Linked DNA regions of Homo sapiens: region 1 is linked to region 2. The links are contacts of gene promoters, found by promoter capture Hi-C in blood cells and fetal thymus (Javierre and others, 2016). All regions are on one chromosome and are shown on one strand. Each heading gives the region's core, a stretch centred on a gene start or on the middle of the fragment in contact. The rest is flanking DNA. Distances are from core to core; before and after follow the strand shown. Region 1 holds the start of MEX3C (mex-3 RNA binding family member C). Region 2 holds the start of RNF138 (ring finger protein 138).

The links. The method cuts DNA at HindIII sites, captures the fragments that hold promoters and counts their contacts. A CHiCAGO score of 5 or more calls a contact.
Region 1: a fragment that was not itself captured here is called in contact with the fragment with the promoter of RNF138 in region 2 in 1 of 17 cell types (total CD4 T cells); the score reaches 6.2 in total CD4 T cells.

What each region holds. Positions count from the first base shown.
Region 1 is chr18:51,192,614-51,198,945 of GRCh38, forward strand. It overlaps MEX3C (mex-3 RNA binding family member C), which reads right to left and starts at 5,068. Exons shown (of 2, transcript NM_016626.5): 1 at 3,954-5,068. The coding sequence starts at 4,707. RefSeq lists silencers at 2,086-2,380, 4,032-4,081, 4,102-4,151, 4,412-4,491, 4,632-4,741 and 1 more and enhancers at 3,072-3,693, 3,322-3,371, 5,492-5,581. The HindIII fragment of the contact is 2,119 bases long and covers 373-2,491 here.
Region 2 is chr18:32,089,339-32,096,263 of GRCh38, forward strand. It overlaps RNF138 (ring finger protein 138), which reads left to right and starts at 2,536. Exons shown (of 8, transcript NM_016271.5): 1 at 2,536-2,897; 2 at 3,362-3,548. The coding sequence starts at 3,439. It overlaps LOC124904278 (a long non-coding RNA gene), which reads right to left and starts at 2,607. Exons shown (of 2, transcript XR_007066327.1): 1 at 2,517-2,607; 2 at 1,937-2,164. LOC124904366 (small nucleolar RNA U13) reads left to right here and starts at 5,166; the gene lies at 5,166-5,268. It also overlaps a transcript of RNF125 not described here. RefSeq lists an enhancer at 2,235-2,284 and a silencer at 2,955-3,374. The HindIII fragment of the contact is 10,157 bases long and covers 300-6,925 here.

The sequences.
Region 1 (6,332 bases), core at 182-2,681, about 19 Mb after region 2:
CCTACGATTAGGGCACAAGTTAATCCAAAATACTAACCTTCCAGAGCAGAATGCTTCAATACTGAAGTGGCAATGTAGAGTACAAAGAATTTTATTTCTGATGTCAAACTATGCTAAATCCAATCTCAACTATTTGAGCAAGTTAGCTCTCAGAACCTCTGTTTCTACCTCTCTAAACGGCAGTAACCACCTAGCAGGGTTAAACGGCACTGGTGAAGCACCTAACATAGTACTAAGCAAAGAGAAGTCCAACAATGCACCCTCATCCCCATAAAAGAAAAAGACACTGTGCTGTAGCATCATTCTGAAACTATTTATTCTCATGAAATATGTACTTCTCCTTGAAGAGAAAATTTATGTACAGCAAGACCAAGCTTTCTCTTTTTCTCCTGGTCACAGACGTATAAACCCTATTTCAGTTGTGTTAGAGCTTGAAGGGTGGTTCCACCCTAAGAAATTGGGAAGACAAATTGAAACAGTGTAAAGTATTAATTGTTAATAAAGAATTTTGTTTTATAATGTGTAATATATTAAGCACACTTACTATTCATACATAAATATCCAGATATTGGGAGTATGCACATTTTTTTTGGACAGGGTGTACAATAAAAAGAAGCTAGAGACGACTTTTCTAGACTATGTGGCTAGAGAACACACATAGACCATTAATTAAAGTCTAATGAAAGATACACATTTATCCTAATAGTAATACAAAATCTTGGGTTACAAGTCTCTAAACAACTGAATTTATGACATTTAGTATTAATTTATAATGTATTAAGAATGGGTATACAGTTCTATTTTAATTCACTTTTTAGTCTAAATGGATATAAATGACTGTACAAATTGGAACAAAACCTGCTGACTAAAATTAGACCTGTTAATCACTGTTAATATGTCTTGCAGGTACTATACTTAAAAACAGAGACGTTCTAAGTTTATAAAATTAGGTCTTAAAATCTGTTGTCAGGTTTATTTTTGATGTCCATATTCTAAAACTTCTTTGATTATATCAACAAGCCTCTTCAGTTCCTGGCTTTATTTTACAGTATTGTTGTTTCACAACAGATGCAATGCTTTAAAAAACAAGGCCAATTTAACATTTACAAATGACCATATGCTACTGGGGAGTATAAATTCGAGGTCAAACACTCTGCCAACTTTCATCAGTATCAAAAGCGGTAGTTTGTGTTTTAGAAAAACACTGGAACTCAGAGGCCATCTACATGAGTTGCTAGTCTATGTGACTCAGAATTCCATTTGTCCTGCTCTTTGCTTCAGAGCTGAAGTCATAAATGTCTCCATCTGTGACATAATTATTTCCAAAATCAATTAAGAGATGTCAAATAGAAAATTATGGCTTCAGGTAATACATAAAATGGCAGAAATGGATAATTTAATCTTAAGGATGAAAGTTTAGCTCCTTCAAAGCAAACAAGAAAATGAAATGATTTGCCCTGTTTTACTTACTTAGGACAGATTCTCTCCCGTGGGGAAATATAATACTGTAAAAGAATGTGAACATTAGAAGTCACTTCGTTCTCCATACGAGTGAGCAAACACTTTACAGGTTTATTACTATGCTGCTGGGACATGGGGGTGGCAAAGGGGTCAATGATCCACAAGTTGTATGGTTCAGAACAGCAAAAGGACCAGATTTTCTGCTTTTAAGATAGAGGATGATGACATACTTTTAACAGTATTGTCAACTCTGGGAAAATACAAGGTTTAAATGGAAGAGCCAGCAATTTGTCTCCATGATCTAAGACATAATTAAATTCAACATTTCCTTATTAACCAAATAAACACAGCCCTCAAAAGAAAAACTAAGGCTTTATCTCATTTCCTATCACGTAATAGCTGGTACAAAATAAAAACTTGGAATTCACTTTACTTTTAAAAAACTGATTTCTATAAAGATTAACAACATACACAAGTAAGGGCCATTTAGCAGTGCTTTAAGGGGTGTCTACTATAATGAAGGACTAAAGTTTGTATTAAACTAAATCTATAAAATATGTTATCTTGTCCTTCAGTAAAACTGGCACGTAAATGTTTTCTTCCTTTGTTACCCTAGACTGTTACCATAAGCACACGGAAGCAACTTGTCCTGAGAAGTGGCATCTTCATATGGCATTCAGGCTTCTTCACATTCTGGTGTGAACGCCTGCCTTCCCCCTTTTCCACCACTCCCCTTTACAGACCTCAAGTATCAAAACAACACTACTTGGCAATTATACCTAGGCTAGTCCTCCACACCCCTCCTCACATTGTTCCTCCACAGTTTTTCAATCTCCATTTGTTAGACTCCTTCCTACCCATTTTCCAAGGCCCTCTCCATAGATGTTCTCTTACCTGAGACTTTGTCATACTAAATACACTATAGTTAGTGCCATTCTACTGTTTATTAGACTGTTATCTTCTTAAGGGCAGAAAGTCTGAATTAACTTCACATTCTCAATACCACAAACTCAAAACCTGGCAAAATACAAGCTTGGTACATAGCGATTCCTCAGTGTTCTTACATGAATGGTCAACTCATTCTGATCCAAATTGAGATGTTGTAATTTTATCCCATGTAAACAAAAGTTTTCTCCTGGATTATTACTCTAAGTATCGCCAAAACCAAACAATCCAGGAATCTGAAACTCATTAACCAGAAGAACGACAAGCATAAGCTACCTTTCAATTGAAAGGTCCAGCTTTGAACAGTGTCTGTAAGTGCCAATCATCAGGCAGTCTGAACTAAGCTATCTCCTTTATCCAGATTTCAGATGAGTTTTTATTAAAATCCTACAGATAGGAAAGAAATAAGCCAAGTCTGATATGTGAAACCACCATTTCGACAGAGCTCTTATTTATGTGTACTTTAGACCACCTGGGAAAGATGAGATCATTTAAGCGGCAGCGCCATCATCTCTCTTTATTTGACCCCAACAATGCTCTCAACCTAACAGTAAAGAGGCATGCAACAACCAGGCTAAACCACATTGTCATGCGGTGGCAGCAGGTAACATCTGCCCCTTTCATAAAGGGGAAATGCTACCATAAAGAACTTAGGACCTTCCCTAAAAATGTCGGATACAGAGGTACCCCAGGCATCCCCTTCCCCCACCTTCACAAATCTACTCCTGGAATCTGAGACACAGGTCCTTTGTCTGAACAATGTGGGAGGAGTCTGTCTGCAGTACTGGTGTGCTGGCAAGTGAAGAGGAGAATTAACTGAAAACTGTATAAACCGATGAAGTTTCTTAATTACCTTAGTGTCCATTTTTTCTTCATCCTGCACACTGAACAGTTTTAAAAGACAGCCAGTGTGTCAGTGTGTCTTTCCGAGAGTTGAAACGTACCGAGAGAAATACAGTTAAGATAGGCGGCAGTGAGTTGGGCTGCTTTTCCAAAGCTAAGTTTCTCAACAGCGGAGGGGCAGGGGATGGCGGTGATACCGACCATTTGAACACCCCTTCCCTCCCCAGTGAGCTCTGTCTACAGGCCTCCATTTCTGTTCTTTTCTCCATCTGAACAAGTTCTTGTAAGGGAGGCTGAACGCTTTTAGAAGACACTCGGCGGCGCAAACTTGCAATCTCGAAGCTTTCCGTACCCAACAGCGAACCCACAACTCCTCGAGCCCGACCTTTTACCACCTCACTGAGGTTTCTGGTGCCACGCCAGCCTGGTGTTCCACGAATACAGCCCAAGTAACGTGAACACCACCGGACTGGGTCGCCCGAGAAACTTCACACTTTTTACCAGGCAAGACGGGCGGAAAAGCGTGGGTTTTCGCAAGGTGACCCATCTTCACATCTGGTCGACCCTCGGCTCCTCCCAGACCCCTTCGCGGTGGACTTGGGGGCCTCGCCGGGTTCGCCTTTTCCGTCCCACGCTCCTTTCTCTCGTCTCCCCACCCACGCCCGGGGCCATGCCCAGCTGGACCTCCCCACCCCTGCACTCACCCTGGCGGCCGACGATCTCGGCGACGTGCTCGGAGCTGGGCACCGGGACGCACTCGGTGGTGTTGACGCTCTTTCTCCGGAGCAGGGCCGCCTGCTCCCCGTTCAGGGCGGCCGCCGCCGCCCCACAACCGCCGGGGCCGTAGGCGTGGGACAGCATCGCCGCCATCATGCCCTGGGCATCGTCCCCTCCGTACAGCACCCCCGCCGCCGCCGCCGCGGCCGCCGCCTCCCGGGCATCGAACCTGGCGGCTGGCAGCAGCACAGACCCCAGGGACCCGCCCGGGATCTGCTGGGTCTGAGAGGCGGTGGCCGCGGGCGGCGACAGCAGCAGCAGCGACGACCGGTCCTCCTCCTCTGCTTCCTCCAGCTCCTCCTCCTCCAGCAGGTCTCCGTCCAGCTCCGCTTCCTCCCCCTCCTCCTCGTCCTCTTCCAGCTCCAGCTCGGCCGCCTCCGGGGCCCCGGGCCGGCCGGGCGGAGCCCGCTCCTCTGGAGACAGCTCCGCCGCCCGCCGGGCCTGGCCCTGCGCCGCCGCTGCCGGGGCCCGAAGCGCCGGGGCGCCGGGCTCCGCCGGGCTGGGGTCGTCGAGGCCTAGCGCGGCCAAGCGCTCCCTCAGCAGGAGCCCGTCCCCCTCGAGCTCCGGGCCGCCCGAGGGCGGCGGCAGAGGCGGCGGTGGCGGCGGCGGCGGCGGGGGCGGCTGCGGCAGGGGGGCCGGGGCCGCCGCCAGGGCCAGGGCCGCGGAGCTGCCGCTGGGCATCGCGGCGGCGCGCTGTCAATGGCGGCGGCGGCGGCCGGGTCAGGCGCGGCAGGCGGCGAGCCCCATGGCGGACAGGGCCAGGGCCCTGCTCAGCTCGCAAACACCTTTCCTCTGGGGAGGCGGCGGGGCTGGGGACCCGGGCCGAGGAGCGCCAGGGCCGCCCGGAGACCGGAGAGGGCGGGGTGGAGGGGCAGGGGAAGGAGGCAGAGGTAGGTAACTAGGTGGGTGGGTGGGGACGGCGGCGGGGCGGGCTGGTGGAGGTGGCAGCGGCTCCCCTCTCAGTGTTTCTTTTGTTTCATGGCCTTAACCAGCCCCCGGCGCGCGCGGCGGCGGCGGCTACGCCCCACGCCGCTCTCCGAATGAAGCCGGCGCGCTCTGATTGGGTGCTTTTAATCTCTGGGAGCCCGCCTTCTCCTCCCGCAGCCTTCCAACTCCTTTCCCCAGCCCCACCCCCCACCCTCCTTCGGGCCCCGCCCCTCCCCTCCCCAGAGCTCTCTGATTGGGTGACCGGGACCAGCCAGTTCCCGAAGCCTACTCCTTCCGTCCTCTCCCCGCCCACCTCCCTCTCATTCCTCCCGGCACGCGCGGAGAGGGACTGTGATTGTTCACTTTACACGTCACTCTTTGTGACGTCCCCGGCGGGGGCGGGAAAAAGGAGGCGGACGAAGGCGCTGCAGCAGAGGCTGAAACTAAGGGCCAAGCGGGGTTTTGGCGCAGGCGCGTGCGGTCGAAGCGCACACCTGGATTTGTTTCCCCCCAACCCTTCATCCCTGTAGCCCATGTGGCTGAGTTCTTTTAGGGAAGGCACTGTGTGAGCGGCCTGGAGCAGAGCTGCAGGCATAGGTTCGAGAGCATTGTTTCCTTGGGTTGAGGAAGAGATCGCCCCCTTCAGAGGAAGGGCCTTAAGAAGAGTCACGGAAGGAGGGGCCACGCAGTATCCTCCTATCCCCTCGCGGGGGCGGTTTCCTGAGCCGCGTGGCTCCCGGGCCTTCCCTCTCGGACTCGGGAATGCTCCTCCCACGCCCCGCTGGCCCGGCTTCTCTGCCGGCAGGATGGTTACATCAGCAGCCTGGAGGTGCTGAAGTTTAGCTCTTCGGGGTTTTTTGTTTTTTTTTTTTAAACGGAGTCCAGCTCTGTCGCCCAGGCTGGAGTGCAGTGGTGCGATCTTGGCTCACTGCAACCTCCGCCTCCCGGGCTCAAGAGCTTCCCCTTGCAGTGGCTCACGCCTGTAATGCCAGCACTTTGAGAGGCTCAGGCGGGCGGATCACGAGGTCAGGTCAGGAGTTCGAGACCAGCCTGATCAACATGGTGAAACCCCGTCTCTACTAAAAATACAGAAATTAGCCGGGCATGGTGGCGCACGCCTGTAATCCCAACTACTCGGGAGGCGGAGGCAGGAGAATCGCTTGAACCCGGGAGGTGGAGGTTGCAGTGAGCCAAGATCATGCCACTGCACTCCAGCCTGGGCGACAGAGCGAAACTGCGTCTCAAAAAAAAAAAAAAAAAAAAAAGAGTTTCTCCTGTCTCAGCCTCCCGAGTAGCTGGGATTACAGGCACGTGCCACCACGCCCAGCTAACTTTTGTATTTTTAGTAGAGACGGGGTTTCACCATGTTGGCCAGGCTG
Region 2 (6,925 bases), core at 1,286-3,785:
CCATCATCCTCCCTTCCCTTCTCCCAAATGCCATTCTGAGGGAAGCCCACTGAGAGGGACTGACTGGTTTAACCCAAACTTAAAGGAACTGTTTAAATTATTGCAGCACAGTTTACCAAATCGGTCTACATCTAGGGTTTTCCCTTCTAATGACCAAAGGCTGAGGACATTTTATTTACGCAGCTGAATGTATTTTGAGTAAATCTATGACATTCTTATAAAAATATCAAGTAGCTTTTCACCAGAAATGTTGCCAAGAAAGAAGATTGTGTCATTGGTAATTGCAACTTATTTTTTTAAGCTTAACTTTCCAAGGGTATCTATATTTTTCTTATGTCCAAGTTTTTGCTGGATTTCCACATATTGCCAGCTATATGCTTACGTGTATACCGAATGACTTATTAGAATATATGGGGGAGTGATACAAATATGTTTGGATTAGACATAAGTAAAGCTGCCGTTGCAGAGAAAGAATGAAGCAAATAAAATTAGGGTCACAAAATTAATGTTATGGTTAGATATTCCCAATGAATAATGGGAAACACTATTATACAGAAAATACACCTTACTTCCTAAATGGTCAGAATGAATGAAATGAGTGGAATTATCAAAAAAGTAAAATGTAGGCCAGGCACAGTGGCTCAGGCCTGTAATTCCAGCACTTTGGGAGGCCAAGGTGGGCGGATCGCTGGAGGCCAGGAGTTCGAGACTAGCCTGGCCAACATGGCAAAACCCTGTCTCTACTAAAAATGCAAAAATTAGTTTGGCATGGTGGTGCATGCCTGTAATCTCAGCTACTTGGGAGGCTGAGGCAGGAGAGTTGCTTCAACCTGGAAGGCGCAGGTTGAAGTGAGCTGAGATCATTCCACTGCACCCCAGCCTGGGTGACAGAGTGAGATTCTGTCTCAAAAGAAAAAAGAAAAAAAGTGAGTTTTCTTCTCTGGGCTGTTAAAAATTTGAACTCAAAGAACCATTTTATAAGTGAATGTGAAAAGCACCTGAACTACTGCTATTAGCTGCCCCTCTCGTCACGTGCTCTTCCTCCTTCCAGGAAATCTGAAGCTAGTATTAGCTTTCTTGTCTTGCTTCCACTGCGCTTGCTGCTAAGGAGGAAAAGCAACAAAAATACAAAATATAGTTTGGTAGAGGGAATTAGCTATTCATTGGACAAATTATTATTATTCTAGGAATCAATGCTTTTGAGATGTACATTAAAACCCATTTCCTCCATAAAGTTTTCTGTTAACTCTATATATTTCTAATCATTCCATTTCCTATCCTCATTATAGCCATCGTTTAATGCAAAATTTAATACTTTGGCAAATACCATTTTTTCTCTCTCATTCTGATAGATATGTAATAATGTAAACAGGTTGAGAGCAAAGTTCATGACATCTGCATAACACCTAACAATGCCAATGTCAACATAGACAATAAATGGCAGAATTGATTTAAATAGTCCCTTAAATGGCTTCTGTTTATTCATTTAGACCATGGGGGAGGGTTTTAACAAAGGATGGTAATAAAACCTTTCTTTTCTCTGAAGCTAATTGTAGATGCTGTATAATGTTCCAGATTTTCCTTAGCTTCTTTCACGTCATTGTGGATCCCATCTTATCGATTTATCCTTTTTTTGTTCTTCTTTTTTTTTGAGAGTCTCACTCTGTCGCCAGGGCTGGAGTGCAGCGGCGCGATCGCGGCTCACTGCAACCTCTGCCTCCCGGGTACAAGCGATTCTCGTGCCTCAGCCTCCCGAGTACCTGGGATTACAGGCTCCCACCACCATGTCCGGTTAATTTTTGTATTTTTAGTAGAGATGGGATTTCATCACGTTGGCCAGGCTGGTCTTGAACTCCTGACCTCAAGTGATCCAACCGCCTTCGCTTACCAAAGGGCTGGGATTACAGGTGTGAGCCACCGCGCCCGGCCTTTTTTCTTTCTTTTTTTTTTTTTTTTTTGAGACGGAATCTCACTCTGTTACGCAGGTTGGACCATCTTATAGATTATCAATTGTACAGATAATTGCACTCCGGCCTGGGAGACAGAGTGAGTACCTGTCTCAAAAAATAAAATAAAATAAAATAAAATTAAAAAAAACACTTAAATTAGTGAATAACCTTGGTGAAAAGCCACGTCCATGCTTCTACGGCATTTCTCTTCAAAGCTAAAAAAAAAAAGAAAAAATCAAAAATCAACCCAAAGGTGTAGTAGAAGACTGCATCTGCGACCGTATTTAAGCATCGGTCATGCTGTTAAAGGAGAAAGTGGACATCCTCTCAAGGAAACTTTAATCCTGCCCCCAAAGGATTAAAATCCCGTAACAAATATTTGTTTATAACACATCTTGACAAGATCAAAACATTCTGGTAGGGCAAATAGTAAAGACTAAATCTTGAACATTGACGAAAACTTCCTGAAAGGCCCAATGTATTTGACAGGAGAGGTAACTGGGGTCCCGGGCCTAGCGAGGCGGGGCGGGGAGGCGCAGGTGTCACCGCGGGCGCCCAGCTGCTTACGTCACAACCCGCGGAAGGCGCCGTGCGCCGGTTGCTATACAGGCCGCACTTCACACCCCGTGCCTCCCCGCCTCTCCTGGCTCCTCCGCCCAGATCCCCGGCGCTCCCGCGTTCGGTGACGGCCGGGTAGGCTGTAGGCAGCGCAATGCCAAGACAGAGCTGCTGGCGGCGGCGGGCGAATCTCCCTGCACCATGAGCCTCGGCTCCGGCCCCGTTAGGGGCCGATAAGCACAGCGCACGCCGCCCTCCATTTGCCCCGGGGCCTCGGCTGCGAAGATAGCGGCGGCCGGACAGGAAGCTCGAGGAAAGCGCTGGGCCGGGTCTCTACGAACACGTGAAGGAAAAGCAGCTCCGTCCACAACGCCGCTTCGGGGCTCCTAGGTGAGAGTCTCCCCGGCGGAAGCGTGGAGGGGCCGGGGTGCCGGGAAGCGGGGCGGGGAGGAAGCCGCGGACACGGGCTGGGCACTCGGGGCTCGGGGTCGGGGTGAGTAGAGGCGGAAAAGCAGTGAAAAGGGAGGCCTTGGGCGAAGACGGGGGCTGAGGGCGGGGCGCGAGCCCGCGCCTGGAGCCCGGTGAGGGCGTGGCCTAGAGCGTGAGGCCGCGTCCTGGGGCGGGGTGAGGGGCGAGCGGGGCGGGCCCACGGCATGCTGCGAGCCCAGCCTCCCGCCAAGCACCGTCCCCCATCCAGCCCCCTGTGGGAGGAGCCGTGGGAGGGGTCGCCTCTTGCCCGGCGCGTGCGGCAGTAGCGTCTCTGCGTTCGGCCCCGCCCTACCCAGGGCCCCGCCCCCTTCCTGGCGCGCGCTGTATCCTGATGCGATCCCCCTCCCCCCTCCGGGTTCATGTAGGGAGTCGGGCCCCGGGCCGCCACCGTCACCTCGGCCGCTGCCGCTGTCGCCATCGCCTTGTTTCCCCATCCCCCGCCATGGCCGAGGACCTCTCTGCGGCCACGTCCTACACCGAAGATGATTTCTACTGCCCCGTCTGTCAGGAGGTGCTCAAAACGCCCGTGCGGACCACGGCCTGTCAGCACGTGTGAGTAGACGCCCCCTCCCCCTCGCGGAGCCGGGTTGTCGCTTAGGCCCGGCCTCCGGCCCGGGACCCCGGGCTGCCGCCTGGCGGGAACCGAGCCCGCCGCGGCCTGCCCGAGCGTCGCTGCCCCGCGAGGTCCCGTTCCCCGCCCCTCAGAGTCCCGGGGCGGCCTTTTCCTCAGCCTCGGGGCCCGCTCCCCGCGTCCAGCCCCCTCAGCCCAAGCTCCCGCTCTCCCGCTCTCCCGCTCTCCCGCTCTCCCGCTCTCCCTGGCTTTCGCGCCCCCGGGGCAGTGGCCAGGCCGTTCCCTGCGGCGTCTTCAGGCCCCGGAGGCCCCTGTCGTCTCCGCCAGGCCCGGGAGGAATTGCAGGGATCTTGGAGCCTTTTTGTTTCTTAGCAACCCGGGTGAAGGCTGGGGTGTCGAGTGTCAAAAGCGGCCGGCGGTGCTCGCGCGGGCCCGCTCGCCCCGCGACCTGCCCTGCTTTCAAGTTTCCTCTTTCAGAACCTTGGTCCGTCCCCTCGGTCCAAGAGCTCTTCTGTAACTTCCCCTCAACCCTGCTTCACAGAACACCCTCGAGAGCGTTTTGTTTCGTTTCCAGTCCACTATGTGTTAGAGGGATCTAGAATGAGTTTTCTTCTCTGGTCTCTTAAAACTGACAGGATTTTCGGGCATTGAAATGAGCGTTCCCCTTTGTTTTACCTTTCTGCTTACTTATTACTTGATTAATACAAGGGTGGAGAGGAGAAAGGAAGACTTCTGTTATGAGGAATGAGCCGAAATTGAGATGCTACCCAGGGTGGGGGAGAACACAAAGGGGTTGGGTGAGATAACGCATGCGTTTGATTGGCAGGCATATTTACAAGAACTTTGATAAAATTTTATGGACAGCTAGGGTGTGAGTAAGGGTTGGAAAGAGCCCTTGTTGAGAAGGTGTATAGCCCTTCTGACAGACCTGACTGATGATCAGAGTCCCCGGGGAACTTTTTAAGTAAACATACCAATTCCCAGGCTCCATTTCAAACTTAACAAAAGAATGTTCGGGCAGGTGGGGCCTGGAAATCTTTATTTATTTATTTATTGTATTTTTTTTTAGTAGAGACGGGGTTTCACCGTGTTAGCAAGGATGGTCTCGATCTCCTGACCTCGTGATCCTCCCGCCTCGGCCTCCCAAAGTGCTGGGATTAAAGGCGTGAGCCACCGCGCCCCGCCCGGAAATCTTTATTTTTAAAAAACACACTCAGGCTTGAAAGTTACGTGTGTTTGCAAACAACTGAAAAGAATTGACCAACCTTCTAAATGTATTTCATTCTCCTTCGACTTTTTTTTCTTTTTTTTTTGAGGTGAGGTTCTATAATTTTGTAAAGGATGGATTGAATTTTTGGTTCTTAATTGCAAATGCCCTTACTGTGGCTGTTTTCTTGATACCAACTCTTCTCATTTTTTCCCCAATCTTAACTGCACTGTCTACTTTATTTCTATTTTGTGCTGGTTGTGTGAGCCAAGAGTGTGTGGATTTTCATGATAGAAATTATGCCAGTTACGCTTTTGCTCTTTAAGGGAGATGAATGACATCTTGTTATTTTGTGCAACAAATGCAGATTCTTAGGGAAATGTTTTGAGGGATCCTTTTGCGGTTCATAGTGTGATGATTGAGTGTTCACAGGCATGTGTGAGATATGCCATCCTCAAACCTTGTTACAGGGTCAGCACATTACCCATCTGACATGAAAAAAAAAACGTTTGGAGGTGTCTAGGGCACAATATAGATCTTCCACCTTTAATCTAGCATAACTTGGTCCCTTTCCAATATTTAAAAAAAATTTAAGTGCTGTGTTGGCATTGGGTAGATAAAAGGGAGGGAGGAGAGCAAGGTGAGAGGAAGTTGTAATAGCTGCTAACTATATATATATATATAAAGCAGGTCTTTTTTGGATAGAATCATTCTAATTATCCTTTGGGTCATTGACCTAATGGGCCTCATTGTAGTTTTTAGCACTCCCCAAAATTCCGTGTAGATTGCTCTAGTCCGCTTCCCTTGTGGGACATTTTAAATCAAGGTTTATAATTTGATTTGACCTCAAGACTGTGGAAAATGTTGGAGATGATTGTTTTTAATTCAGGACCTTTCTCAAATCAACTTATTGTACGTAGACAGTTCTGCCTGAACAATGAATTAAAAGAATAGGCAGAGGGAGAAAAAAAGTTTAATTTGGAAGAGGTGGTAATGGAGGAACAGGATTTTAATCAGTTGGAAGGAGTTTAGTGGGGGAATTGGAGAGAAATTTTAAAAATTATCGTTTTTTTTTGAGACATGGTCTTATTCTGTTGTCCAGGGTGGAGTGCAGTGGTGTGATCATGTTTCATTGCAGCCTTGACCTCCCCCGTTGGAGCAACCCTCCCGCCTCAGCCTCTCAAGTTGCTGGGACTACAGGAGCATGCCTCCATGCCTGACTAATTTTGTTTTCTTTTTTATAGAGACAGGGCCTCACTACGTTGCCCAGTCAGATCTTGAACTCCTGGGCTGAAGTCATCCTCCTGTCTTGGCCTCCAAAAGTGCTGGGATGACAGGCGTGAGGCATGGCACCTGACCTGTTTTTTAATTAACATAGTTATCTATGTCATTTGCTCTACCTTCTTCACAAAGGACAGACCTATGCCTTTAAAGAAATTTATATTTGGCTGCAAAATCAATTTTTGATTCACGAATAGAGAGTTGAAGTGATAAGGGCTTTGGGTTACTGTGGATCAGTTAGAAAATGAAAAATTTTAATTGCCATTTCAATGACAGGAAAGGATTTGACTACTGACTATCCTAGTAAAAGGAGCAAGTTCATTATCATTAGAATAACATTACTAAAATATAAACTCCCGTTTAATCCCCATTCATTCCCTGAAACTGCAGTTGTTGAATGCTCTTTGTCTGGTGCAGGGACTACTAAGTACTGTTTCTCTGGAGACTTAATAGTCCGCTGGAGAGACCTATAAATGAGTGTGATTGATATAGAAGAGATTTTATGTGAGCATCTAGAGCAGGTATCTAAATTAGCCTAAAGGATAGGGATAATTTCCTAGATGAAGTAATGCCTTAGGTCAGCGTTTGTATTCAGTGTTTGTGGGGAATGCCAGAGTCAAGGAGGGTACAGAGGATGAATGTGAGCTGGACTTTGAAGTTTGGCTGGAGCCAAAGACAGCGTAGTGGAGATGGAGCTTAGCGTTATTGGCAGGAACTTACTGTGTAAGCTAATTTGAGTGTTTTCCTGAAAACCTATTAAATAATTAGATAACCTAATGAATAATACTAGACCTAGTAAATAATTTTTGGCAGGGGAGCAGCGTGGTCACATTTCATTTTTAGAAAGTTTACCTTCATAGCAGGGTTTTC